6 separate regions of the Homo sapiens genome follow, and all the other regions are linked to region 1. The links are contacts of gene promoters, found by promoter capture Hi-C in blood cells and fetal thymus (Javierre and others, 2016). All regions are on one chromosome and are shown on one strand. Each heading gives the region's core, a stretch centred on a gene start or on the middle of the fragment in contact. The rest is flanking DNA. Distances are from core to core; before and after follow the strand shown. Region 1 holds the start of MKLN1-AS (MKLN1 antisense RNA). Region 2 overlaps LINC-PINT (long intergenic non-protein coding RNA, p53 induced transcript). Region 3 has its middle 14 kb from the start of LINC-PINT. Region 4 has its middle 35 kb from the start of LINC-PINT. Region 5 has its middle 51 kb from the start of LINC-PINT. Region 6 has its middle 74 kb from the start of LINC-PINT.

Region 1 (4,615 bases), core at 1,380-3,879:
CATCAACAGGACTGAGGATACAACTGTGAACAAGATATGTATGACTCTTATCTTCATGGGAGCTATCATTTAGAGAGAAAGAAAGGGGAAAAAAGAGAAAATTAAAATATATTGTGATGTGTGCTAAGATAAAGAGGGAAACTTAGAGTGCTAAGAGAAATGTAAAAAATGTTACCTATCCTGTGTTAGCTTGCATAGGAAAAAAAAAATGAAGAAAACTGTCACCTAATCCCAGAGCAGGTGTTGAAGAAAGATTTTCGGCCAGACGCAGTGGCTCATACCTGTAATCCCAGCACTTTGGGAGGCCAGGCCGAGGCAGGAGGATCGCTTGAGCCCAGGAGTTCAAGACCAGCCTGGGCAACAGAGTGAAACCCTGTGTCTACAAAAAAATTTAAAAAGTAGCTTGGTGTGGTGATGTCTGCCTGTGGTCCCACCTACATGGGAGGCTGAGGCAGCATGATCCTTTAAACCCAGGAGGTCAAGGCTGCAGTGAGTCATGTTCATGTGACTGCACTCCATCCTGGGTGACAGAGTCAGAGTGAGATTCTGTCTCAAAAAAAAAAAACCAAAAAAATTTCCAGGACCAAACAGTCTACAGGATGAGCTGGAGTTAGCCAGGTAAAGAATGGGAAAGAATATTCCATGCCTGGCTTAGAGCAAGCTCCGGAGGCTAGAGAGAACAAGGACTCTATGGGAACAAATTCAGTGTGCTAGTTAGTGGGCAGATGTCAAAAGCGCAAAGGAGAAAAGTGGGGGGGGGGTGGTGGTGAGGAAGCTGGAGAGAAAAATCAAGGCAGGTTATGAAGGGCCTCTGTTAAACAGTTTAGAAGGGTATTGAAAGTCACCAAAAGGATTTAAGCTTAAGAAGAACTAATTAACATGTGTTTTTAAAAAAGATTGCTCAGGAACTATGTCTGGAAAAGAACAAGGACTTGACTTACATTAAGGTAAGAAGTGGAATTATAAAATCTGGGGCCCAAAGGAATTGGAGTGAGTTAATTCCTCCCCTTTAAAGTGTCTATTTTCTTCAAAGATAACCACTATATCATCTCTGGGGCTAACATTCTCTGGCCCTTTCCCACTGTCTCTGGCAGCTCCCGACCCAAGTCACTACAGTTACAGCATTCCCTTAAGGAACACATGCTTTTCCAACCTGCTGCAACACAGAAAGCACATGTAATTTTTTATTTTATTGTATTTTATTTGTTTTTCTGAGACAGAATTTCACTCTGTTGCCCAGGCTGGAGTGCAGTGGTGTGATCTTGGCTCACTGCAACCTCTGCCTCCTGGGTTCAAGTGATTCTTGTGCCTCGGCCTCCCAAGTAGCTGAGATTATAGGTGTATGTCACCACACGCAGCTAACTTTTGTATTTTTAGTAGAGACGGGGTTTCACCATGTTGGCCACGCTGGTTTCGAACTCCTGACCTCAGGTGATCCACCCACCTCAGCCTCCCAACGTGCTGGGATTACAGGTGTGAGCCACCGTGCCGGGCCTGGCCTTTCTATCTGGCTTTTTTGATTTGATATCCTAGTAGAGCCCACTATTAAAATTTCCATCTATAGAAACAGGAAGTCAGGAAAGGACTGGAGGGAATTTCGGCAGGTTAATGATTACAACGGGAAGAGAATACAATTATTGAGGTGTTTTGACTCACTTGGTCATTTCCTGAGAAACTCTTTGCTTGAATTTTTCCACTCTTCAGGTGAAGATGATGACACTGTCCAGGCTTTCAGGAGTCCAACCTCTTAGACAATAAGCGACATACTCTTTGGTAACTGCAGTGGCTAAGCCAAGGAATAAATATGCATAACTACAACAAACAGGTACTTGATGAGAACGTTATCTAGAGCTGCCAGATAATTTAGACCAAGTGCACCTTTTGTTGTAAGAAGCTGGTATGATGTCCACATAGTTTTCAGGGCTGCTGTTCCCTCTAAGAAGAAGGAATAGTCTTTTTCCTGAACTACTCTCTCTCTGAACTTTTAGGCTACAATTATGTCAGTTCAAAGTGGGCAGATTTGCCAACTGAAAAAATGATGACACGCAGCTTCCCAACTCTGTAAGGACTTTTCAGGTCTGTGGGTGAACGTCATTCCCGAGCAAACCAATGCCACAAGATTAGTAGGATGCGGCTCACAAGAAATGTTTACAATGAAGGGCATCACAGACTGCAAACCAAACAGGGTAGGAGGACACGGGACCATTTCCTTTTCCTGTCTCCATCTGACTCTGGAAGGCGGGGACAAGACATTTAAAACCAGGACCACTCCAGGAGGACAGCACATTAGCTACTGCCCTCCAGCTCCCTTCAGTGTTGTTTCCGTAAAGGACTTATAAACTGGCGAGGGCGGTGGCTTCCAAAAGCGCACAGGCGTCCCTTTTCCAACTTGGTCTTCTTATTTTCCCTTCCTGCTCCATAACTACAACGTGTTTCTGTTCGTAATCATCTCGGCTTTTCCTTACCTCTGCTTGTAAGAAAAGTCCTTTGCGCCATTCCCCTCCAAGCCCCAGGGAAGGGCCTGGAAAGCGCTTACACCTCAGACCCAGTGTCGGTCAGCCGTCAAGGAGCGAGCGACGTGGGAAACCCTGAGATAGGACATTGGCCCGGCGCTGGGCTCGGGTAACGATGCGGGGCGGGGAGCGCGGGCGGCCGGGGAGGGCGGCGGCCCCTTTAAGAGCAGGCCACGCCCCCTCCCCTCCTCCCGTTCGCTGCCAGCGGTCGGTGGCGGCCGCTACGGTGCTGACAAGATGGCGGCTGGCGGAGCTGTCGCTGCGGCGCCCGAGTGCCGGCTTCTCCCCTACGCGCTACACAAGTGGAGCTCCTTTTCCTCCACCTACCTTCCCGAGTAAGTGCCGGGCCTTGAGCTCGTGCTGCCCCACCCTTCCGCGTCAGCACGGTTGGGCCAGGGGTGCAATGGAGGGCAGCCGAGCCGAGAGGCCCAGGCGGGGCCTGCTGAGGGGGACGTGCGGCCTCCGGAGTCTTAGTTCAGCTGCTGAGAGCGTTGCTCGGCCTCGCTCGGGAAGGGGTTAGGGTCCGGAGAGCGAGCCCAGGGAGAAGGGGCGAGGTGTGTGGCGGATCCGGGGCGCGCACAGGAGAACCGGAAGCCCAGCGGTTCTGCGCTTGGGATTTGGGGGTTGAGGTTGAGGAGGGCTTGGGGGGCGGACGGCTCTGGGGCAGGAATCGGAGTTGGCGGGGCCCTGCCCGCGGGCAAACTACCCCGAATGTCTGAGGTCGTCCGAGGTGGTCGGCGTCGGGGGACAGTTCAGTCGATTGCTGCCGGGACAAAGTGTAAAGCCGAGGAGTGTCTATTCCAGAGTGGGGTCATTAAAAGTGATTAGCTCTAGAGTAGTGTTAAAAGTCACGGAAGGCTGAAAAGTTGTGGAATCCATCTGAATCCTAGCAGGCGGGGAGAACTTGTAGGATTGGCAGACGTTGTCTTTAATGCCTGGAAGTTCTGAAAAAGATAGGGAGTGGGAAGGAGGGACGTTACCGAAGAATTTCAGTATTACGGCTCATTAGAAGATGGGTTTGTATGGACACAGACACGTTTCCCAGTCCGGAAACTCAAACATAGAAACATCTGGCTTTAATGAATTTGATTTTCAACACCGGCTTTGTCTTGATCCCTGATTTAGGTGTTAAAAAAATTCAGTTGCATTGTTAGGTTTTTGTTGGTGGTGTTTTTTTCTCTAGCAAATTCCTTCTGAAATGCTGAAAATACTCTTACATAGTATCTTATTTATCTTTGGCTTATCTTTGAAAGGAGGAGCAGATCTAACTCCAATTTTACATGCTAGTGGAGGAACTGGCTTAGTAAAGGGTTAAGATCTGTGCAGATCCTGAAGAAAAGTGCTAGTTGTCCCTCTAACCATCTCACAGGACCGAAACGATTTTATGAACGAAACAAATTAATGAATAATATATTTTACTGAGTATTTTACTAAACAAAAAAGTGACTAGATCTGTGAAGCATACTCAAGTAAGTTTTCCATCTGTATTTGAGAAATTCTTCACATTTATCCAAATTTGATTTCACTGGTTATATCAATGAAGAATCTCAAAATGGAGCTGCAACTGGAAGAATCTGTCATGACTGCCAGCCTCCCATTTTATTCACCAGGTCAAGGGTTGGCATTCAGTAGGATCTGGCCCAATGAAGGGTGCCAAGTGACCTGTGGTTTGATCTGGCCTGCGTAGCCTATTCATGGCCATATCCCTGATTGATGCTGAAACCCAACTTTGAATTTGAGAGTGAGCCAGATAAACAGTCCAGCCATGTAGTTGGAGTTGAAATGTGGCCCTATGTACTTGACCTCTGATATTCTGGGCTATCTTGTTCTTGGATCTGAAGTTATTCAGCTTTTTTCTATACCCAGGCTAGGATTATGGACAGTTGGGAATTGGTGTGGCATTGTTTGATCTAACTGTAGAGACATTTTTCTGGTCTTGAATTAGCGTATTTCCAGGACGTCACTCCTTAAATTTTTGATGTAGGCCTGAGGCTTGGATAACACAAGTACCATCCGCGTTATCTGTTGTATAGACATTTTAAGAAAGTACATTTCAAGCAGGAAATGATTTAGTGGGATGGCAACTTTAATCTTTTGTGTCT
Region 2 (4,615 bases), core at 635-3,134, 250 kb before region 1:
TGGCCTGCAGGCCACAGGTTGGACAAGCTTGGTTTAAAGTATCAAAAGGCATCTCCCAAGCCTTCCATGATTTTATTTTATTTTCCCTCTGGCTAGCAATTCCTTGGACTCAGTCCTTTCTGTTAGGCTGGTCTACCTCCACTCCTAGACCCAGGCTGAGCACTCTCTCAAACCCCAAGGTAAAAAGAGGAAGTCGTTTTCCATCTGGGTCCCAGATCTAGTCCTTTCAGGTCAAAAGTTTTCTCCTCAGCTGCTGGACTCACCACTTAACCACTCAGGCTTCCCCCTTCCAGAGGCTTCCCTCTCTGTTTTAGTCCATTTTCTGTTGCTTATAGAATACCTGAAACTGGATAACTTATAAAGAAATGAAATTTATTTCTTACAGTTCTGGATACTGGGAAGTCCAAGGTTGAGAGACGGTATCTGGTGAGAGCCTTCTTGCTGGTCGTGAGTCTCTGCAAACTCCGAGGCAGTGCAGGGCATCACATGGCGAGGGGGCTGAGTGTTGCTCTCTCTTTCTCTTCTTACAGAGCCACAAGCCCCACTCCCATGACAACCCATTAATCCACTAACCCGTTAATCCATTAATCCATGAGTGGATTAATCAATTCATGAGGGCAAAGCCCTCATGACCCAATCACCTCTTAAAGATTCTACCTCTCAATACTGCCACACTGGGGATTAAATGTGAACGTGAGTTTTGGAAGGGACAAACATTCCAACCACCGCACTCTCCTTGAGCATATTCTCAGCCTCACTTCTGTACTGTTTAGCATGGATTCTTATTCCTTGCTGAAAGTCAGTTTTCTTCTACAGCTCTGCCCAGCATCACCCACTCATCTGACTCAGCAAGAGTCACACAAATTGCATATTTTAAGAAGATCCTTTGCGGTATCTTGAGCATTCATCTTCCCTTTACATTTGAATAAAACAATAATGCATGGACTTCTGATTACAGTTTAAGCTCCTTGACACTAGGTAGGCAAATGCCCCCTTTTTGTCCATGACTTTTAGGATCAGAAATTTTTCACCACAGACATTAACACAGTTGCCTTTAAATTACGCAGTCTGAGCAAGACAATAGCTTTAAAATAAAGCAGAAGAGATTTTATAGTTTCTAATCACCTGTATACCAAAACACTTAAATGAACCACTGATGGGGCTTGTCAAATTTTTAATTCTGTCAATCTGCAAGGAAAAAGAAAAAAGAAAATGGAGAGAAAACAATTATCCACCCTCGAAGATTTGGTATTATTTGCCTGAGGGAAGATTTTAGGATGTTTTAGAGTCCCTCTGATTTATTGTTCTTTGTTTTCATCATTACATTAGAATGTAATCTGATCCACTCTGATGGTCCCAGAGAACCATGATCCTTTCTTTCCAAAACATCCACTACAAGACTGGACCTGGCTTTTGGTACTCTTCCTTCTTTAAACTCATTCCAAAAAAAGGCTTCAGAGAATGACTTTCTAAAGTCAACACAAACTTCAGACTTTGGGTCTGTCTCACAATTGGTCACAGAGTGCAGATGAAACTCAAAGTCAGTCGTGCTCTCAAAGCAAAACACTGAACAAAGATAAGCCCAGTCTTCAAACAACACGCAAGCCCACTGGCTTACTTCCGTAAAGGGCCCAAGTTACAGAAACGCCTGTTCTGTAAATGGCTTTGGTTACTTTCTCAGGATCATCTGCTCAAACAGTGATATGTCAGTCACTGCTAAGATCTTTAAAGAAAAACATCTTTCACTGGCACAGGATAGAGCATTCAAGAATTCAAAGAAACATTTGTAGATTAAAAAAAAAAAAAAAAAAACCTTCAGCATGGCAAATCTCAGCCTGTGGCTTTTGGCTTCAGATTACTTGCATAATACTTTGTTTTTGTGAGATCCTCAAAAATGAGTGGTTATATATTTTTCATTTTAAAAAGTTTCTTCCTTTCCTATTTGTGATTAGAATAGAAACTGTTTAGTTTAAAAAAAGTATTTTCCTTCAGAAACCTATCCTACAAATCAACGTAGTTCTGTCAACGACCCCAGATAAATATTAAGTTGGACAGACACATCAAACAACATTAAACAAATAACTATGTGAACTGAATTAATTAGTTACACAATTAATTCTCTACTTTTGGCAAATGCTTGATTCTGTTCTTAAAAGGTTAAATACAATATAAGAGCAGTTTAATGTCATGAGGAGCCTTGTATATTTGCTGAACACCAGGAAAACCTTAAAGCACAACTTCATTAAATTCAAAGCAAAGAGATTTGACTCCTTCAGAGTGACATAATTAGAGAAAGGACTAAAGGGAGAACTGAAGGGTCCTAAAAAGAGCATGGCCTTGGGTATTGGGAAGATCAGGATTTGAATCCTGGCTCAGTTATTTGCCAGCTGTGTGGTCTTGCACAAGCTACATAAACTCTCTGAAAATCAGTTTATTCAGCTGTAAAATGAGAAAAATAATGTCACTGCACAGAATTGTTACGGAGATTCAATGAGTTAGATGAAGCACTTAGAACCAATGTGGCACCTGACACATGCTCGACAGGATGTCTGTGATTGACGTGAATTCCCTTCTTCTAATTCCCTTCCCTGTGTAAAACTGATGTGGCAGATCGTAGGACTTTGTAATGGTTGTAAATAGTTGGTTTCTTGAAAAAAAAAAAAAAACTATATTCAAATTATATTTTTAAGATGCTGAAGGAAATCCTGACAGGTTACAACATGGATGAACTTTGAATACGTTGCGCTGAAACAGGCCAGTCACGAAAGGACAAATATTGTATGATTCCTCTTGTATGAGGTTCCCAGAGTAGTCAGAAAGTAGGATGGTGGTTGTCAGCAGATGGAGGAGAGGGAAATGGGGAGTTGTTTAATGGGTACAGAATTTTTTTTTTTTTTTTTTGAGATGGAGTCTCACTCTCGTCCAGACTGGAATGTGGTGGCGTGATCTTGGCTCACTGCAACCTCCACCTCCTGGGTTCAAGCGATTCTCCTGCCTCAGCCTCCTGAGTAGCTGGGATTACAGGTGCGCACCACCACGCCCTGCTAATTTTTATATTTTTAGTAGAGACAGGGTTTCACCATGTTGGTCAGGGTGGTCTTGAACTCCTGACCTCGTGATCTGCCTGCCTTGGCCTCCCAAAGTGCTGGGATTACAGGCGTGAGCCACCACGCCCAGCCAGAGTTTCAATCATGGAAAGTGAAAAGGTTCTGGAGATGTATGGTGGTAATGGTTGCACAACAATGTGAATGTACTTAATGCCAAAAAAACCACTCAAGAATGATTAAATGGTAAAGTTTATGTTATGTATATATTTACCCCCGCTACACACACACATACTGAAAAGTGCTTGGTATTTTTAAAAATCTTACAACAAATTCTTTTGAAAAAGTTTTGTTGTTGTTTTTGTTTGTTTGAGACAGGGTCTCACTCTGTTCCAATGGCTTCGTATTCCTGCTCATCTCAGCTTGACCTCTTGTGGCTATCTCTCCTTTTGAAACTGTTCTTAAATGGCTCTTTTCCCGAGTGTGCCCTTTAAATGTTGGAGTGTCCCAGAGTCCTCTGCATGACCCTCTCTCGTTTTGCTCAGCAAGCTCTCCTTATATAATCTCACCCATTCACACACATGTGAATATGTTTCCGTCTGCTGGTTCTCTCCATTTGGGTGCCCCATTCTAAAATGTCCAGAACCAAACTCAATGTTTCCTTTCTACTCTCCCATTCAATGGCTATAGGTTAAAAAAAGCTTCCTTCTCTATTCTTCCATCCCTCCCACAACTGTTATCTGCAGCTCTGGTATGTCACGCAAATTCCGCCTCCCAAAATCACATGCAACTTAGTCTTCTCTGCCACATCGCCGCTGTCAAGGCCTAATCCAGGCCCTTCCCCGTGCTCACCTGGACTTTGCAGCAGTCTCCTAACTCGTCCATTCTCTTTAGTCTTCCCCTTCCAGTCCATCTTCCACACTGCTGCCAGGCATTTTTCTAAAATGTGAATCTCCGCCATTCCCCTGATTTTAAAACTTCCAGTGGTTCCCTACAGCCAATGGGGCAAAGGCCAGTCATTCAGCATTACACACATGGCCCTCTCCAATCTCATTTCCTGCTGCTTTCCCACTTCCCAACGCCCCTGAACCTTAAGCTCCATTACAACTTCTCAAGAAAATGACAATTCCCACCTCTACAGCGTGGTACATGCTGCTTCTGAAACATGCTCCTTGTTCTTCTCCATTTGGTGGGCAACTGCACGCTCTTGAAGACTCAACTCAAAACGCCAGTCTTCCCAGACCAACCCCCACAGTCCAAATTAATTGAAGCGCCCAGAGCAGTTTGTGCAGGAGGTTGCAACGCTTAGCACGCAGCACTGCATTTACCTGTTTCTTGCTTCCAAGTCATCCCTGAAACCTTCTGTGTGGAGCAGCACAGGACCAGAAGACCTGCCTCACTCAGTTTGCAGTCACCCCTAGATGCTTCATGGCTTGTGTGGTCTACCTCTCTAGTCACACGTCTCCCAATCCTCAATGCTCAGGGACTCCACTGCCACACTGATGGACCACCATGGTCCAAGCACGTCCACTACAAGGCTTGGGGAAATCTTTCATTCGTTCACTCGACTC
Region 3 (4,615 bases), core at 867-3,366, 200 kb before region 1:
TCTCGTAAGCGTTAAGCTCCTTGAGAGTTAGTATTATTTTATTATTTATTTTTGTTTCCCTGGGGCTTGCCCTGTGACCCACACATAATAAATGATCAGTAAACTTTTGTTAGATTGAAGAAAGAGAGAAAGATGCATGGCAAGAAAGGCAGACATGCAGAAAGACAGTAGAATTTATGCTTGGGTCTCAAAAAATAAATAAGTAAAACAGATTCCCTTGAAGTTGACTGCAAACCCAGCTTGATCTTAGGAAATGTAAGGAGGTTCTTTCTGCTCCCTGTGTTTTACTCTTGAGCTAACACATTGATGGGGCTCCCACAGAACCATATTGTTGCCATGTAAGTACCTTCAGAAAACATTTTGAGAAGTGATATTCACCTGTGTCTGGTCAATCTGAGTCATTTTTATCTTTATTTAGGTCCTAGGTGATGACGAAAAGGGCAATTTGCTTTTCCTCGTCTATGACTCCACCACATCACCCTGAATGAGTTGATGGAAACGGGGGCATCCATTTCTGTGCCACTACAGTTCTGTAATACACTGTAATCACTCATAACGCTGCCCAGCCCCAGTTTCCCATGAGAGAGAAAGGTGACTACTGGCAGGAAGAGACGTCTAACCTCTTAGAGAAACCACCAGCTTCTTAGTCTGTTATTGTTTCTGCATTAAAGTGTTGCTGCGGGCCGGGTGCGGTGGCTCATGCCTGTAATCCCAGTACTTTGAGAGGCCGAGGCGGGCGGATCACGAGGTCGGGAGATGGAGACCATCCTGGCTAACACGGTGAAACCCCATCTCTACTAAAAATACAAAAAAAATTAGCCGGGTGTGGTGGCCCGCGCCTGTAGTCCCAGCTACTCGGGAGGCTGAGGCAGGAGAACGGCGTGAACCCGGGAGGCGGAGCTTGCAGTGAGCCGAGATAGCGCCACTGCAGTCCGGCCTGGGCGAAACAGCGAGACTCCGTCTCAAAAAAAAAAAAAAAAAAAAAAAAAAAGTGTTGCTGCTATCAGGGCCGCTGTACAGAATATCAAAGAAGGACATGTTTGACTCTGTTCTAAGAACGTGGAGCTCTTCTACATAATAAAAGAGAGTGTCCTTGAACTGGAAATTTTAGGAAATACAGTAATAGATGTAGTTGAAACAATATTTAAAATGTTATGCCATCCTGTATCATTTAGTTATACCAAAGATCAGCAAACTTTTTCCATTTCTATAAAGGGCCAGAAAGGAAATAATCTAGGCCTTCCTGGCCCTACAGTCTGTCTCAGCTACTCAATTCTGCCATTGTAGTGCAAAGCAGCCACAGACAAAATTTAAATGAATGAACCTGGCCATATTCCAATAAAATGAATTTGAATTTCAAATAATTTTTATGTGTCATAAAATATCATTCTTCTTTTCACATTTTCCAATCATTTAAAAATGTGATGGCCTGGGAAATAGCAAGACCTTGTCTCTACAAAGTACAAATAAAAATAGCTGGGTGTGGTGGCCTGTGACGAGGCAGGTGGATCACAAGGTCAGAAGTTCAAGACCAACCTGGCCAACATGGTGAAACCCTGTCTCTAGTAAAAATACAAAAATTAGCCAGGCATGGTGGCAGGCACCTGTAATCCCAGCTACTTGGGAGGCTGAGGCAGGAGAATTGCTTGAACCCAGAAGGCAGAGGTTGCAGTGAGCCGAGATTGTGCCACTGCACTCCAGCCTGGGCAACAGAGCAAGACTCTGTCTCAAAAAAAAAAAAAAATCTACTTCTTACATAGTACAGTACTGGGTATTATGGAGTTGAAGATAAAAGGATAGATAATTCATAAGTAGGTAGGTAGGTAGACTGACAGACAAAAGATCTAGTGACTGATAAGTTCTGTGAGAATTGTTCAGGTGTATCACAGTATCAATGTATAAATGCAGTCTTTTAAAGCAACAATAGGCAGTCAGACAAAACTAAGTTTAAATCTGAGCTCTTTTGCATCCCAGCTGCATGACCTTGGGGTGATTACATACACCATATAAGCTTCAGTTTCCTCTTTTTGAAATGAGGATAATAACACCTACCTCTCAAGGAGGTTGTGAGAATTAAATAAGATCATGTATGTAAATCAGCAGGTGTAGTACCTGGGAAATGGTAGACAATGAGTAAATGGTAGCTGTTGTTGTAGTATTACAGCAATATGAAGGTAGGTAACTTATTCAAAAGAAGCACACAACCAAAGGCAAAGCAGAGTAAGCTTGTAAGTCAAGAGGTCACAGACACATATAGAAACCCGCAAACCTGGGGGCTGAACACCTGGCCGAGAACATTTGGCTGAAAATAAAAGCAGAAGTGACATTGTCACAGGAGCATACAATAAGGCACCTGGCCAGTTGTCTTGCTTTTGTCTTCTCTAGCAACCAGCTGCTGGGTTGTCTAAGGAGCCCTACTTATGGGTCCAACCCCCAGCCTCCCCAGTACTTAAACGCTGGCTCAGACTGGAGAAAGTCACCATTAGTATCGGCCCCACCATTGTGCTTCCTTTCAGTTAGGTCAGCCATGGGGCCTCAGACATCTGTAGCTCCCTCCTATTGTGCCTCCCCACCCCTCTGCCCAATATGGGTTTCCACCTTGCCCTCAACACCTCAGTCTCTGGTCCTCCTGCCTTGTATCCCAGTCTCCCTTTGGATGTGGGTCCCTTGTCTTGAACCCCAGCCTACTTTACCATGATCCTGATGTCTTCTTTAGCTTAGTTCTGACCAGTCATCTTTGCAGAGGGCTGTATTCTGCTGCCTACACCCCTGCTGTGCTCTCCTCAAACCATGGGACATATGCGCCTTCCCCTTTATAGATAACCCATTGCTAGGGTAAGGCTAAACTGCCTGGTATTAACAGCTTCCTGAACTTTATGTGATTAAGAGACACAAGGTTTTGCAGAGGCCAGCTGCCCAGATCCAAGCTGGTTTCTGTATTCATAGCCCGTGCTCTAGGGAGCATCCCCCAACCCTGGTCTTGGCTCATACCCTCTCTCCACTGGCTGTATGCAGTCAACTACTCCTAGCATGCCTTGTGATCCTGTTATGGCAACATCAGTAATGCTTTCCCAATACAAATGACAAAATTATTGGCACAGGGACACGATATAGGGGTAATGGAGAACTTCAGCTTATCTGATATCTACTGACAGTCTCATTCTGCTGAAAAGTGATCGTCAAATAAAGTTGGCATGACTTAAATTTAAACTAATTGCTTACTGAAGAAGTACTATTCTGTGCTTAATTCTAACCAGCTAAGAAAAATATGTTGGCAAAGTAGAAGTGACAAACAACTTAAAATAAGTGACCAGGGCAGCTTTGAATTTGTAATAGCCAAAGAAGGCAATTCTGCACCTGCTAACCTGACATGAACGAGAGGAGCAAGTTAAGAGAAAATATGGACACAAGACTCCCTCTGGCCAGGAACTAGGAAATAAAGGGCAAGAGGAGTCATATGATTGGAAGTGTACATTTTTACAAAATCAGTGGTTTAAATGAAGAAAAGACGAGCATCCAAAAAAAGATCAGGCTAGGCACTGTGGCTCACACCTGTAATCCCAACACTTTGAGAAGCCCAGGCAGGAAGATTCCTTGAGGTCAGGAGTTCGAGACCAGCCTGGGCAACAAAGTGAGACTTCTGTCTCTGCAAAAAATTAAAAACAGCCTGGCACGGTGGCTCACGCCTGTAATCCCAGCCCTTTGGGAGGCTGAGGCAGGAGAATCACGAGGTCAGGAGATCGAGACCATCCTGGCTAACACAGTGAAACCCCGTCTCTGTTAAAAATACAAAAAAAATTAGCCGGGCGTGGTGGTGGCCACCTGTAGTCCCAGCTACTCGGGAGGCTGAGGCAGGAGAATGGCGTGAACCCAGGAGGCAGAGCTTGCAGTGAGCCGAGATCACGCCACTGCACTCCAGCCTGGGCGACAGAGCGAGACTCCGTCTCAAAAAAAAAAAAAGATAAATATAAATAAATAAATAAATAAATAAATTAATTAATTAATAAATAAAAATCCAGAAGAAAAAGATTAAAAAGATCAATCTGGTTGTTCTGGAAGTGTTCAATTAAGCTTGTACGTTTGAAGGACATGTACAAAAGGCAGGAGAAGGGGTATATAACGAGGCTTCCTTCAAAAAGGAGGGCTCAGATCCGTGAGACCCATGAGAATAATGCCAGAAGGGCTAATGACCAGAGACAGCTGAGGTCTGGGAAAAGTATTGAAGACAATGAATTATGAACTTTTATTTTTGCTTATGTTTATAGTAAAGAATAATAAAGAAGGAAGGATAGTACCATTGAATGGGGCAGACTGTCATATGTGAGTAGTTAAGTGAAAAATAGAGTCATTTAACTATAGCATGTCCTAGATTCTAAGGTACAGATATCCCCCCATGTTTTTAATATTTCTAAAATGAGAATGTAGGTACATTTAACACGGCGGTGTTTTTTGGGAGGGCTCTCAAAACAGCCATTAAATGGTGGTGCATCCTACCATATATATTTTTTTTTCCTGATGGAGTTTCACTCTTGTCACCCAGGCTGGAGTGCAGTGGTGCGATCTTGGCTCACTGCAACCTCTGCCTCCCGGGTTCAAGCAATTCTCCTGCCTCAGC
Region 4 (4,615 bases), core at 833-3,332, 180 kb before region 1:
GGTGGCTCATGCCTGTAATCCCAGCACTTTGGGAGGCCGAGACGGGCGGATCACAAGGTCAGGAGATCGAGATCATCCTGGTTAACACGGTGAAACCTCGTCTCTACTAAAAATACAAAAAATTAGCTGGGCGTGTAGGCGGGCGCCTGTAGTCCCAGCTACTCGGGAGGCTGAGGCAGGAGAATGGCGTGAACCCGGGAAGCAGAGCTTGCAGTGAGCTGAGATCGCCCCACTGCACTCCAGCCTGGGCAACAGAGCAAGACTATGTCTCAAAAGAAAACAAAAAAGGAATTGCAAGCAGAGGGCAATTAATAGAGGTAGACTTCACATCTGTCCCTTGTGGGCTTCTTTTCCAGAGTTCCATATCCAGACTCTCAAACCATGTTTTGGGATCATCCAAACATTCCATCCTCCTGACTCCATAAACTATTGGATTCATAACCTGCTCCATGCTTGAAAACATGGGGATTGGAATTCGGTAAGTGTTGATGTTTTAGTTTTTTCTTTCTTTAGTTGTCAAAAAAGTACTGTACCTATATAGTAATGCTTTTCAAATTCTTCTCTCTGGAGTCTTCATCAGAAGATGTGACTGGAGTCCTCACTAGTCTAGTTGTTTTCACAATGTTTGAATATGCTATGTGTACAAAGAAATGTTGTGAAGTCTTCTGAGGAATTCCATCCTTTCACATTTTCTCCTCTGTTTCATGAGTATTTAAATTCTTTGGCTGGGCGCAGTGGCTCATGTCTGTAATCCCAGCACTTTGGGAGGCCGAGGCCGGCAAATCACGAGGTCAGGAGTTCGAGACCAGCCTGGTTAACATGGTGAAACCCCATCTCTACTAAAAATACAAAAAATTGCTGGGCATGGTGGCAGGTGCCTGTAATTCCGCTACTTGGGAGGTTGAGGCAGGAGAATCGCTTGAACCCAGGAGGCAGAAGTTGCAGCGAGCCAAGATCGTGCCACTGCATGCCAGCCCAGGCGACAGTGCGAGACTCCATCTCAAAAAAAAGAAAAAATTCTTCATCATTGCTCTATTGATATTTTCTAAAGTGACTTCACATAGAGAAAAGTGGATTTTTGGCTGGGCACAGTAGCTCATGCGTGTAATCCTAGTGTTTTGGAAGGCCAAGGCAGAAGGATTGCTTGAGGCTGGAAATCCAAGATCAGCCTGGGCAACATAGCAAGACCCCATCTCTACAAAAATTTAAAAATTATCTAGGACTACAGGTGGCATGTGCCTATAGACCCAGCTACTTGGGAGGCTGAGGCAGGAGGATCACTTGAGACCAGGAGTTCAAGGCTGCAGTGAGCCATGATCACAACACTGCACTCTAGCCTAGGCAACAGAGCAAGACCTTATCTCAAAAAAAATAAAAATAAAAATAAAAGTGGATTTTGAGAATCAGAAAGACTTGCTGCCCACTCTGGGCCAGTTTAATAATGCAGGACATGTGTAGTTCAACCATACTCCAAAAACAACTCTGTTTTAGCCATACTGCCTATCGTCAACCCCACTGCATCCCCACTGTCAAATTTCTCTAGCCCCATAACTGATTTTGTTTTTCATAACACTTCTTTGTTTGTTGTCTACCTCCTTTCCTAGAATGTAAGCATTATGAGGGCAGGCAATTTTTTTGTTCAGCACTAGATGCTCAGCACTTGGAACAGTAACTGGTACACAGAAGGCACTCAGTAAATATTTTTTGATTGAATGAATGATGTATTTTAAAAGTTTTTCTTTTGGCCGGGCTCAGTGGCTCACACCTATAATCCCAGCACTTTGGGAGGCTGAGGCGGGCGGATCATGAGGTCAGGAGATCGAGACCATCCTGTGAAACCCCGTCTCTACTAAAAAAAAATACAAAAAATTAGCCGGGCGTGGTGGTGGGCGCCTGTAGTCCCAGCTACTCGGGAGGCCAAGGAAGGAGAATGGCATGAACCTGGGAGGCGGAACTTGCAGTGAGCCAAGATCATGCCACTGCACTCCAGCCTGGGTGACAGAGCAGGACTGTGTCTCAAAAAAAAAAAAAAAGTTTTTCTTTTTAATTTTTATACTTTTAAAAATAGAGATGAGGTTTTGCTATGTTACCCAGGCTGGTCTTGAACTCCTGGCCTCAAGCAATCCTCCTGCCTCAACCTCCCAAAGCGCTGGGGTTACAAGTACATTTTTGAGCCACCACACCTGGCCCTTGTGTTTTGTTTGTTTTTTTCTTTTTAAAGAGGCTGATGCAGGCCGGGTACAGTGGCTCACACCTGTAATCTCAGCACTTTGAGAGGGCGAGGTGGGCGGATCACCTGAGATCAGGAGTTCAAGACCAGCCTGACCAACGTGGAGAAACCCCGTGTCTACTAAAAATACAAAATTAGCCAGGCGTGGTGGCACACGCCTGTAATCCCAGCTACTCAGGAGGCTGAAGCAGGAGAATCGCTTGAACCCGGTAGGCAGAAGTTGCAGTGAGCCAAGATTGCACCATTGCACTCCAGCCTGGGCAACAGGATTGAAACTCCATCCCCCAACCAGCAACAACAACCACAACAACAACAACAACAACAACAAAGAGGCTGATGCATATTCGGATCTCCAGGGATCTAATGAAAATCTGCTTTTTCCCCGAACACTTATATCGATGACTAAGACAATAACATTGATGGCCTGCCGAACAAATTTACAGATGACACACACTAGAAAGAATTACAAATAGGTTGGAGGATACAATCAGATTCTCTCCCCACCCCCAATCCTGACAAAATGTAATAATGAATCATATCAAACAATATAGAGTTTAATGTGTACCAATATAAAGTACTCAAAGATCCTCGAATTGTACAGGTACTGAGTGGGGGCGAGGTGGCTTACAGCTACACACGGCACGAAGATTTACAGTCTCCTGTTGATTGTAAGAAGATGAGTCAACACAGTGGGATGTAGCTTTAAAAAAAAATCAATCTTTTGTTGTATTAATAGAAATGTAACGTTCGAGAGGGGAACTAGTTCTCTAGTACTCACTGATGATCAGACCACATTTATTGTGTTTTATGAATTCTGGGCTTCAGACATTCAGAGACATTGATCAACAAAGGATTATATGGGAAAAATAAAAATGATAATAAGAAATCTGGTGCACAGAGTTATTCAGAAATAACAAAAAGATCCAAGGTTTTATGTAGGTGTGTAAGGGGGATGGTGATAACTAGCATATGTAGCTACCTTTCAAAGTTTGAGGTCTATCCGGCAGAGGAGAGATTTGATCTCTTCTGGGTAATCCCAAATGGCAGATTGAGGGCCAATGAGTGGAGATGTAAGCACGTACATTTCAACCCATTAACATTGGTCAACTGTTAGATTTGCCTAGCAGACAAATGGACAACCACTGGAGGTAGTAAATTCCCTGACCCTGGTGCCCGGAAGTGGGGCAGTCATGCCCCATTCACTGGGTACATTTGTGACAGAAGTTCAAACACTAGAGTGAGGAAGTGAGGAGAATAGATTTGTTTATAATAGCAAACACATAGTGAGTGTGTACTGTATGGCAAACACCATAATACGTGATTAATGAGGTTGTCATTTCTAATACATCAATCCCACTAGCTCATTTTACAGATGAGAAAGTGAGGCTTAGAGGGATTAAGCAATTTGCCCAAGGTCTTACACCTTGGTACAAAGCAGATCTAGGATTTGAACCCAGGCAGTCAGATCCCAAACCTTAATTATTATTCTATGAGGACCCTAAGGTGGGCATGGTGGTACACGCTTATAGTCCCAGATACTGGGGAGGCTGAGGCAGGAGAATCACTAGAATCCAGGAGTTCAAGACTGCAGTGAGCTATGATCATGCCACTGCACTCCAGCTTGGGCATCAGAGCGAGACATTGTCTCTAAAATAAGTAAATAAAAATAAAAGTAAAGTATAAGGACTTTCACTTCTAGAAAGCCGTTCTTTCCCACCTTGAGATCCTATCACTCTAATGAAATAATCAAACCGAGGAGTTTATCTCAAAGGGTGGATGATTCTATAGTACATAGATTCCCTCTATATGTAATATGCAGGAACTGTATTAGTCTGGCCATTTGCCACTTGGGTATACTGTATGGAGCCCAGCATAGGACTTGGCACACAGTAGGTGCTTGCTAATTATTTATTAAGTGAAAAGAATGAACAAATGCAACAAATACAACATTGGCGGGATCTGAAATGACAGAACCTCAATATATTGTGCCTGAAGAAAAGCACATTTCTGGGTGGTCTACTGAGGACCCTCAGCAAAAGTGATAATCCGTCACTCCCGGCAAAGGCCTTGAGAATTCCTGTGCAATTGTTTGAACAATATTCATTTAAACAAATATTTATTGAATACTGGTCCTGTACCAGGTATGTCCAATGTGTGAAGGATGCAGAGGTGAATTGGAGGATGTGCTGTCAGTGGGGGAGAAGACAGGTGGGCAAATCCTTACAGTACCTTGTGACAAATGCTATAGCAGTTGCGTGTATGTTTTTTAAGTATGATGGAAGCAAAGAACAGAAAGGAAATGATTCTGCTAGGTTAAAGGAGTCATCTGATATTTGATTATGTTTTATTTATTTATTTACTTTTATTATTATTAATTTTTTTTGA
Region 5 (4,615 bases), core at 1,020-3,519, 170 kb before region 1:
AAGAGTAGGACTGAGTGCCATTCCTGAGGTGTCATTCCACTCTTTACTCAGGGGTTAAAAGTCTAAAGGTGACCCGCAGTCACATCCTCACTTTTTTCTCTAGATCACACACTTTCCACTGATGCCTAAAGTCTTACTGTTTAATGCCACCAGCTTCTCCCTCAGGTCAAGTATTCTTATTTTCTGTATTTCATTTTTCACTTTTCACCTTTATGAAAAGGACTGAGCACATGGTAGAATAGAAAATGGTGCAAAAACTGTTCAGTGAAAGGTGCATCTCATTTCCATCCAGGCTGCCCAGTGCCATTGGCCAGAATTGCCAACCATTTGTTCATTCACTCAGAAAGTGTGATGGGGTGCATTGTCTGTGCTAGCCACTGTTTGGGGTGCTTGGAATCTAGCAGCATACAAATAGATTAGATCCCTGCCTTCTAGTAGGGGTTGATGGGCTACAAGCAACATATATGAGCAAGTTATTATAGGGTAGGTTAGAAAGTGATGAATGCAGCCTGGGCAACATGGTGAAACCTTGTCTCTACAAAAAAATTTAAAAAAAAATTAGCTGGGTGTGGTGGCACACCTGTAGTCCTAGCTACTAGGGAGGCTGAAGTGAGAGGATCGCCTGAGCCCGGAGGTGGAGGTTGCAGTAAGCCGAGATCGTGCCACTGCACTTCAGCCTGGACAACAGAGAGACCCTGTCTCAAAAAGAAAAAAAGAAAAAGAAAGTGACTAATGCTATGGACAGAAATAAGCAAGGGTGGGGGACAGGCTGATCAGGTTCACTTATGAAATATCTATCACACAAGCTAAGTGTCCATCAACAGATGAATGGATAAAGAAAATGTGGATACACACACACACACACAGACACACACATACAATGGACTATTATTCAGCCATTTAAAAAATGAAATCATGTCATTTGCAGCAACATGGATGGAACTGGAGGTCATTTTGTTAAGTGAAATAAGCCAGGCACAGTGAGACAAATATCAAATGTTCTCACTCATATCTGAGAGCTAAAAATGTGGATCTCATGGAGGTGGAGAGTAGGATGGTGGTTACCAGAGGCTGGGAAGGGAAGGGGGAGTGGGGGAGGAAGGGATGTTGGCTAATGGGTACAAACATAGAATTAGATAGTAGAAATAAATTATAGTATTCAGCAGTACAGTAGGGAAATTAAAGTTGACTATAATTTATTATATATTTCAAAATAGCTATCAGGTTTCAAAATATCACATGTACCCCAACAATATGTACGACTATTATATATCAATTTTCTTAAAGTCATAAACATTATAATGGGAAAAAAAATAGTATATACCACTGGCCAGAAATTCTCCTGAGCACTTTACATATGTTAACTATCTGAATCCTCATAACAAGCCCAGGCACTCTTATCATCGTCATTGTAAAGGGAAACTGAGGCACAGAAGAGGTAGGAACATGGCTCAAAGTCACAAAGCGAATGAGTAATGAGACCTGGGCTTTCACACAGGCTGCCTGGCTCCAGAGCCCGAGCCTAGCTCCAGAACACTTCCGTCATCCTAGAAAAAAAAAACTCCCATGCCTGGTAGAGTCACTCTCAATTCTCTCCTAACCACAGACCCTGGCAACCACTTATCTGCTTTCTGGCTCTATGGATTTGCCTAATGTAAATATTCATATAAATGGAATCATGTAATATGTGGCCTTTTGTGACTGGCTTCTTTCACTGAGCATAATGTTTTCAAGGTTCATCCATATTGTATCAGTCCTTCATTCCTTGTTGTGGCTGAAAAAGATTCCATTGTATGAATATACCACATGCTGTTTATCCATTCATCAGCTCTTGGGCATTTGGGTGGTTTCCATTTCTTGGCTATTGTAAATAATGCTGCTGTGTACCTTTGTGTACAAGCTTTTGTGGAAATGTACATTTTATAATTTTCTTGGGTACATACCTAGGAGAATTATTCAGTTGTAAGGGAACTCTATGTTTAACTTATTTTATTATTATTATTAATTATTATTATTATTATTATTATTATTATTATTATTATTATTTTGAGACAGGGTCTCACTCTGTCACTCAGGCTAGAGTGCAGTGGTGCGATCTTGGCTTACTGCAACCTCTGCCTCCCAGGCTTAGCCTATTCTCCCACCTCAGCCTCCTGAGTAGCTGGGACTATAGGCATGTGCCACCACACTGTGCTTTTTTTTTTTTTTTTTTGGCATTTTTTGTAGAGACAGGGTTTCACCAGGTTGACCAGTCTGGTCTCAAACTCCTAAGCTCAAGCAATCCACCTGTCTCAGCCTCCCAAAGTCCTGGTATTACAGGCATGAGCCACCGCACCTGGCCCTATGTTTAATTTAACAAATCAACTTTTGATCACATGTATTACTTAGCTAAGCCTCTCTACTCAGAAGGGGAGAAGTATAGGAGCAAGTGGTTGCTTTAGCAAATGTCCTATCCTGTCCTATCAATATGATGGTGTCTCCTTCTTGGGGTTTCATAAGTCAGTACCCTGAAGGTCATTGACACTCCATGTGTGTATTTTCTATGCAGAACCCCCACGGAGGCCACTTTTGGTCGCCTTCTCCATACAATAGATGGGGAGTGACCATAAGGAAGTACCCCTTAAAGTAACTAAAGAGCTCAAGCTTGAGCAGTGGAACCTCTCCAGGTACTTCTAAGAGCAGGACAGACAGGGTCAGTCTAGAGAAGTGAATGCTTTGAGAAGATTACACAGTCCTCTAACAATAACATCCATGATGATTTTGTAGAATTCTCTATGCCTAGCATAATGCTAAATGAGTCACAGCCTTTTTCCTAGACTTGCACTCTCCGGTATGGTAGCCACGGGTCACATGTGGCTATCAAGCGCTTGAAATATGGTTAGTCTGAATTAAGGTATGCTATACAGGTTGAGTATCCCTAATCTAAAAATTCAAAATATAAAATGCTCCAAAATCCAAAACTTTTTGAGGACTATGATGCTACAAGTGGCATTGTTGGTGGTGACAAAGCCTGCTGTTCTCTGCTATTGCTGCTGTTTAGCAAGTGATACAGGTATTCTTTTTTTATTTTTTATTTTTTTTGAGACGGAGTCTCGCTCTGTCGCCCAGGCTGGAGTGCAGTGGTGCGATCTCGGCTCACTGCAAGCTCCGCCTTCCGGGTTCAGGCCATTCTCCTGCCTCAGCCTCCCGAGTAGCTGGGACTACAGGCGCCCGCCACCACGCCCAGCTAATTTTTTGTATTTTTAGTAGGGACGGGGTTTCACCGTGGTCTCGATCTCCTGACCTCGTGATCCGCCCGCCTCGGCCTCCCAAAGTGCTGGGATTACAGGCGTGAGCCACAATGCCTGGCCGTGACACAGGTATTCTAAGGGATGCTGCTGTGCTGATTAGTAACTCTGAACACATTGTTTTTTTCACTATTTTAATAGTATGTTATATATACATATATACACATATATATACGTGTGTGTGTGTGTATATATATATATATATATATATATATATATATATATGTAACAGAGTGATATACAAATATATATATATATATACACACACACACATATATATATGTATATCACTCTGTTACCTAGGCCGGAGTGCAGTGGCACGATCTAGGCTCACTGCAACCTCCGCCTCCTGAGTTCAAGCGATCCTCCTGGGTTCAAGCAGTTCTCCTGCCTCAGCCTCTGGAGTAGCTGGAATTACAGGCGTGCACCACCAAGCCCGGCTAATTTTTGTATTTTTAGTAGAGACGGGGTTTCATCATGTTGGCCAGGCTGGTCTCGAACTCCTGGCCTCAAGTGATTCAGCCACCTGGACCTCTCAAAATGCTGGAATTATAGGAATGAACCAACACGCTCATGGTGTGTTATATTTTTTACTGTTAAGTACTTATGTCTAAATAAACGTGAGAAAATGATTGCTTATCAGTAGCACATAAATGAGCGTCAGGAATGATGTTGCCAAACAAGCACAGATTGTCCCATGGGTGGTTGAGATAGTGACACCTTTGGTTTCTGATCATTCGATTGATAAAAACTTTGTTTCATGCACAAAATTATTAACAGTATTATATAAAATTACCTTCAGGCCATGTGTATAATATGTATATGAAACACACATGATTTTTGAATTTAGACTTGGGTCTTATTCCCGAGATATCTCATTTATGTATATGCAGATATTCCAAAATCTGAAATCCGAAATACTTGTGGTCCCAAGCATTTCGAATAAGAGATGCTCAACCTGTACGTGTGAAATACACATTGGACTTCGAAAACTTAGTGCAAAAAACAGAATGTAAAATACTCATGAACATTTTTTACATGTTGAAATGATATTTTGGACATGAGTTAAGTAAAATATAGCACTAAAATTAATTTTGCCTATTTCTTTTTACTTTTCTTAATGGGCTACTAGAAAATGTTAAATCACACATGTGGCTCACATTGTGGCTTCCATTATGTTTCTATTGGACAGCACTGGTTCTAGACAAGTCCTCACAGTTATCTTATCAGCTGGATGGTATTATCATCCTTCTATTATGGGTGAGGAAATTGAAGCTTAGAGCGCTTAAGTCAATTACCTATGATCATACAGCTGTGGCTTAAGCGCA
Region 6 (4,615 bases), core at 708-3,207, 140 kb before region 1:
ATAATGATAATAATTAATGTTAAATCCACTACTTCCTCCTCCTCTTAGGTATTTTCCCTCCAGTATTGATTATGAAAGAGGCTTAGCCTCACATCAGCCCTAGAAGAAGTGGGAGAAATTTGAGAATAAGAAAGAAAAGCATCTGATGAAAATAAAATTATTATAGAAAACTATATATGCATAAACATGTTATCAGGTTTAAACATTAAAATGTATTGGTATTTAGTATGAGTTTAATGTTACTAGCTACTAACATCTATTAAAAATTAGGCTTCAGGCCAGGCGCAGTGACTCACACCTATAATCTCAGCATTTTGGGAGGCCAAGGCAGGAGGATCAAGTGAAGCCAGGTGTTCGAGACCAGCTTGGGCAACACAGGGAGACTTCATCCCTACCAAAAAGAAAAAAAATTAACTGGACTTGGTGGCGCACACATTTAGTCCCAATAACTCGAGAGGCTGAGGCAGGAGTTTGAGACCAGCCTGGCCAACATGGTGAAACCTCATCCCTATTTTTTTTTTTTTTTTTGAGATGGAGTCTCGTTCTGTCACCCAGGCTGGAGTCCAGTGGCACGATCTCAGCTCACTGCACCCTCCACCTCCTGGGTTCAAGCAATTATCCTGTCTCAGCCTCCTGAGTAGCTGGGACTATAGGCGCAAGCCACCACGCCCAGCTAATTTTTGTATTTTTAGTAGAGACGAGATTTCACCATATTGGTCAGGCTGGTCTCGGACTACTGACCTCAAGTGATCCACCTGCCTTGGCCTCCCAAAGTGCTAAGATTACAGGCGTGAGCCACCACACCCGGCCCCCATCCCTATTAAAAATACAAAAATTAACTGGGTGTGGTGGTGCGTGCCTGTAATTCCAGTTACCCGGGAAGCTGAAGAAGGAGAATTGCTGGAACCCGGGACGGGGAGGCTGCAGTGAGCCGAGATCGCACCACTGCACTCCAGCCTGGGTGACAGAGTGAAACTCCATCTCCAAAAAAAAACCCATCATAAATATGTTCATCAATAGAGTTAATAGAGTTCAAAACTGGTCTGGATTCAATATGTTGACAAAATGCTTCAAACCTGGATACCAGTCCTGCAGTTGACACTGTATGATTGAATTTGGGAAAAACAGGTTCCCATAGCTTTCAGGAATAGGGTTTGAAAATACTGGAATTGAAAAGCTTCAGTAAGAGAAGACAATGCTTACCACAGCCAAGCTGTCACTCTCTAATTATTTTTACTTTCACGTTATTTGGGCCCAAAGAACTAGATGAGGAATCAGGAGTTTACATAAACAAATCCCTGGAATATACAATTTAGCTTATCCTTTAGCATCTCTATTTTTCCTCCAGTTGAGTGAGAAGAAACCCTAAGACCAAACCTTATATCTTCCAGAAGCATTTTAAGGAATAACCATGTTTGAAAGATTTCTCTAATGAGTCATATAGAATTCTGTTACTATAGAGAGATTGTCTTCTTTGCTAAGAACAAATAGAGAATAAAGACTTACAAATAAATGAGTTGTTTTAAGAGTCTGTTTTATAGTGTCACCTTTTTGTGAAATTCCCCATTATACTGCCACATTTTAATGTTCTTTTTCTCTGGCCTGGGCTTAGAGCAATGATCTGCCACTCTCATGTATGAACTATGCACTAGAGTACAGAAATATACATAATCTTTGCCTAGGGTATAATTTTAGTGGGCTGACGCAGCAGCACAAGAAAGGCTCTGAAATGCCAGTGGGTTACACATGCATTGATCTTGACAAATTCTATGTGATCAACGTGACCATGGCATACCTTGTGACTTTTTTGGTTGGTTTGCTTAAATGTCAATCAAATTTTAAGATAATTATGAGATGAAATGCACTAGGGGACCTACCACACAGCATCAGGTGGATGTGGAGTGGTTTTGCTACTCATATAAAGTGAAATCCTGCAAAATAACACCCTCAAAGGAGCTGAATGTAAAGGAGAAAGGGGAAGACAATATCTTATCATTAAAAATCAATCAGATATTTACTAAGTGCCTCTTCTGATGACTTCTTACATTTCAGTGGCTAGCAGATCTTGGTTCACAAAATACTTTCACAGACATTATCTTATTTGATCCTCCCAACAACCGGTAAGGTAAGAGAGGTAATCTGAAAATGAGGAAATGGCAACTCTGAGACTTAAGTGCTTTCTGAGGACCTATACTCAGCTTGACGGGGGTGGGGAGCATTGGAACTGCCCAGGTCTCCAAATACTCTGTCCTGTAATCATTCCCTCTTGATCACCCACTATTGTACTCCTTCATTCTCTGTCTGGTCCTGTGGAGGAGTCCAAAGAAATTGGAAGGCGTAAATCTTGCCCTCAGGGAGATTCTGCTCTAGATGAGAGAATGCAAGTTTTCGTAATAAAAACAACAGAGAATTATTAAGTGTTAAACCGTATGAAACAGGCTACAAATATAGTAACAGATTATTTTCACTGGAAAATAAGATGCTATAAATTGTACCCAATGGCCTGAAAAATGTATGTGCAGGTGCCTGAGAATAGTGGTCAACTCAATGTTTCTGAAGTTTTCCAGCCAGGCAATCAATGTTTTCCTAGAGAAGTCTCATGGTTAATTCTTGACTAGGAGAAAAGCCAACAAGCACTATCTTGCCCAGCTCTTTGGTGACACATGGTTGCTTCTAAGAGCCAATTCTTGAATCTTTGAATTCTTTTTAGCCTCTGTTGTGCCTCAGACTGAGAACAGGAAGCTTGTGGGAACCAGTCCTGGCCCTGGTACCTTGTTGCATCCTCTAAACGATCAGTGGAGGCCACCGAGGAAATTGCCTGTTCACCTCCTCCTAGTTATCTAGTTTGCAAACGGAGTAAAGAAGAAGAGTTACTTTTTTTTTTTAAGCTGCCTTGAGGTGGGAGAATGGACACATTTGTTCTCTACTCAGAGAGACCATAGACTTCAAGGGTCTGCAGGGACTCTGTGATCACTTTTCTTTCTTTTTTTAGTTTTTTTAGAGACAGGGTCTCACTATGTGACTATTCACAGGCATGATCACAGGCATGACTACAGTGTCAAACTCCTGGGCTCAAGCAATCCTCCCAACTCCGCCTCCCTAGTAGCTGTGACTATAGGTGTGCACCACTGTGCCTGGCTTTATTTTCTAATGTCTTAATGCTCAAACCTAAAATTCTCCAAATCCATATTTGTTTCAGATGCAAAATTCTATTCCAAATATCTGTTCTTTGTTTTTTTCAGCAGAGCAAGCCTGTCCTTAGAAACAGCTGCAGGCCAGTCACTGTCTCTCCCTGTCTTTATCTTCCCTGCTGAGTGGCATGTTGCTTGCAAGGCCCCATGGGGACTTCCAAAGCCTTCCATAAATGACTGGCAGTAATACTTTTTTTTTTTGAGATGGAGTTTCGTTCTTGTTGCCCAGGCTGGAGTGCAATGGCGTGGTCTCGGTTTACTGCAACCTCCGCCTCCCGGGTTCAAGCAATTCACCTGACTCAGCCTCCCAAGTAGCTGGGATTACAGGTGCCCGCCACTACATCCAGCTAATCTTTTTGTAATTTTAGTAGAGACAGGGTTTCACCACATTGGCCAGGCTAGTCTCGAACTCCTGACCTCAGGTGATCTGCCCGCCTTGGCCTCCAAAGTGCTGGGATCACAGGCATGAGCCACCATGCCCGGCCAGCAATACTTTTTTAAAGATGCACACACCCAGCCAGGTTCACCAGTATTATGGATGTTTCTGTGTAGTCTTCTCCAAAATGCTAATTTGCTGAAGTGTCCATGGGAATAGGCCAACACGGATGGATCTACTGTATAACTTGCCTGCCATCAGGAAAGAGTCAACACGGCAGACACATGCTGGCAGAAACCCTGCTGGAGTTGCCCCTGAGCATTGATGCATACCACCCGAGAGGAGGAGAGGGTGGTGGGAGAAATCAGATCAGAGTTCAGAATGCACCGTAATGCTCTGTAAATGTAAGACTGCACCTTGCAGGAACTGTCAATGCCACTACCAATATCACTCACTTACATCAAGCACTTGAGAGCAGCTGCGAACACAATTCTCTGACTCCTAACCTTAAGCACGTGACTGGTACCACTGGACAACCTATGTTCTCAAAGATGCATCTTTTAAACTACTTTCCCTAGGGGCCCGGCACGGTGGCTCACACCTGTAATCCCAGCACTTTAGGAGGCCAAGGTGGGCAGATCACCTGAGGTCAGAAGTTCGAGACCAGCCTGACCAACATGGTGAAACCTCGTCTCTACTAAAAATACAAAAAAAAAAAAAATTAGCCAGACACGGTGGCACATGCCTGTAATCCCAGCTACTCGGGAGGCTGAGGCTGGAGAATCGCTTGAACCTGGGAAGCAGTGAGCCGAGATCGCACCACTGCACTCCAGCCTGGGCGACAGAGCAAGATTCCATCTCAAAAAAAAATAAAAAATAAAAAAATTACTTTCCCAGGAGTAGAAATGGATTTATGCTGAGTCACTCAAGCTTTCATTTCATCCAGGGGTTGTGAACATAGATTCTGGAACCAGCTCTGTCACATACTAGCCGTATGACCTTGGGAAAATTACCTAAAAATTCTCCATGCCTTCAATTCCCGTGTGTG

Evidence for each region. The method cuts DNA at HindIII sites, captures the fragments that hold promoters and counts their contacts. A CHiCAGO score of 5 or more calls a contact.
Region 2: a fragment that was not itself captured here is called in contact with the fragment with the promoter of MKLN1-AS in region 1 in 17 of 17 cell types (naive B cells, activated CD4 T cells, naive CD4 T cells and 14 more); the score reaches 17.0 in naive B cells.
Region 3: a fragment that was not itself captured here is called in contact with the fragment with the promoter of MKLN1-AS in region 1 in 17 of 17 cell types (naive B cells, total CD8 T cells, total B cells and 14 more); the score reaches 22.2 in naive B cells.
Region 4: a contact is called between a fragment that was not itself captured here and the fragment with the promoter of MKLN1-AS in region 1, in 7 of 17 cell types (neutrophils, naive B cells, total B cells and 4 more). The highest score is 13.6, in neutrophils.
Region 5: a contact is called between a fragment that was not itself captured here and the fragment with the promoter of MKLN1-AS in region 1, in 1 of 17 cell types (neutrophils). The highest score is 8.2, in neutrophils.
Region 6: a fragment that was not itself captured here is called in contact with the fragment with the promoter of MKLN1-AS in region 1 in 9 of 17 cell types (neutrophils, monocytes, total CD8 T cells and 6 more); the score reaches 10.5 in neutrophils.

The regions. Positions count from the first base shown.
Region 1 is chr7:131,325,150-131,329,764 of GRCh38, forward strand. It overlaps MKLN1-AS (MKLN1 antisense RNA), which reads right to left and starts at 2,630. Exons shown (of 6, transcript NR_125364.1): 1 at 2,466-2,630; 2 at 1,657-1,786. MKLN1 (muskelin 1) reads left to right here and starts at 2,727. Exons shown (of 18, transcript NM_013255.5): 1 at 2,727-2,848. The coding sequence starts at 2,751. RefSeq lists enhancers at 2,492-3,068, 2,763-3,062, 3,069-3,645 and a silencer at 2,553-2,712. The HindIII fragment of the contact is 3,998 bases long and covers 858-4,615 here.
Region 2 is chr7:131,075,400-131,080,014 of GRCh38, forward strand. All of the region lies in intron 2 of LINC-PINT (long intergenic non-protein coding RNA, p53 induced transcript), which reads right to left. Among named protein-coding and RNA genes, the nearest start is that of LINC-PINT, 32 kb to the right of the region's middle. RefSeq lists an enhancer at 3,479-3,623 and a cis regulatory region at 3,551. The HindIII fragment of the contact is 3,718 bases long and covers 26-3,743 here.
Region 3 is chr7:131,122,059-131,126,673 of GRCh38, forward strand. It overlaps a transcript of MKLN1 not described here. Among named protein-coding and RNA genes, the nearest start is that of LINC-PINT, 14 kb to the left of the region's middle. RefSeq lists an enhancer at 2,119-2,278 and a silencer at 2,419-2,498. The HindIII fragment of the contact is 214 bases long and covers 2,010-2,223 here.
Region 4 is chr7:131,142,464-131,147,078 of GRCh38, forward strand. It overlaps a transcript of MKLN1 not described here. Among named protein-coding and RNA genes, the nearest start is that of LINC-PINT, 35 kb to the left of the region's middle. The HindIII fragment of the contact is 6,889 bases long and covers 1-4,615 here.
Region 5 is chr7:131,158,489-131,163,103 of GRCh38, forward strand. It overlaps a transcript of MKLN1 not described here. Among named protein-coding and RNA genes, the nearest start is that of LINC-PINT, 51 kb to the left of the region's middle. The HindIII fragment of the contact is 743 bases long and covers 1,899-2,641 here.
Region 6 is chr7:131,181,150-131,185,764 of GRCh38, forward strand. It overlaps a transcript of MKLN1 not described here. Among named protein-coding and RNA genes, the nearest start is that of LINC-PINT, 74 kb to the left of the region's middle. The HindIII fragment of the contact is 1,565 bases long and covers 1,176-2,740 here.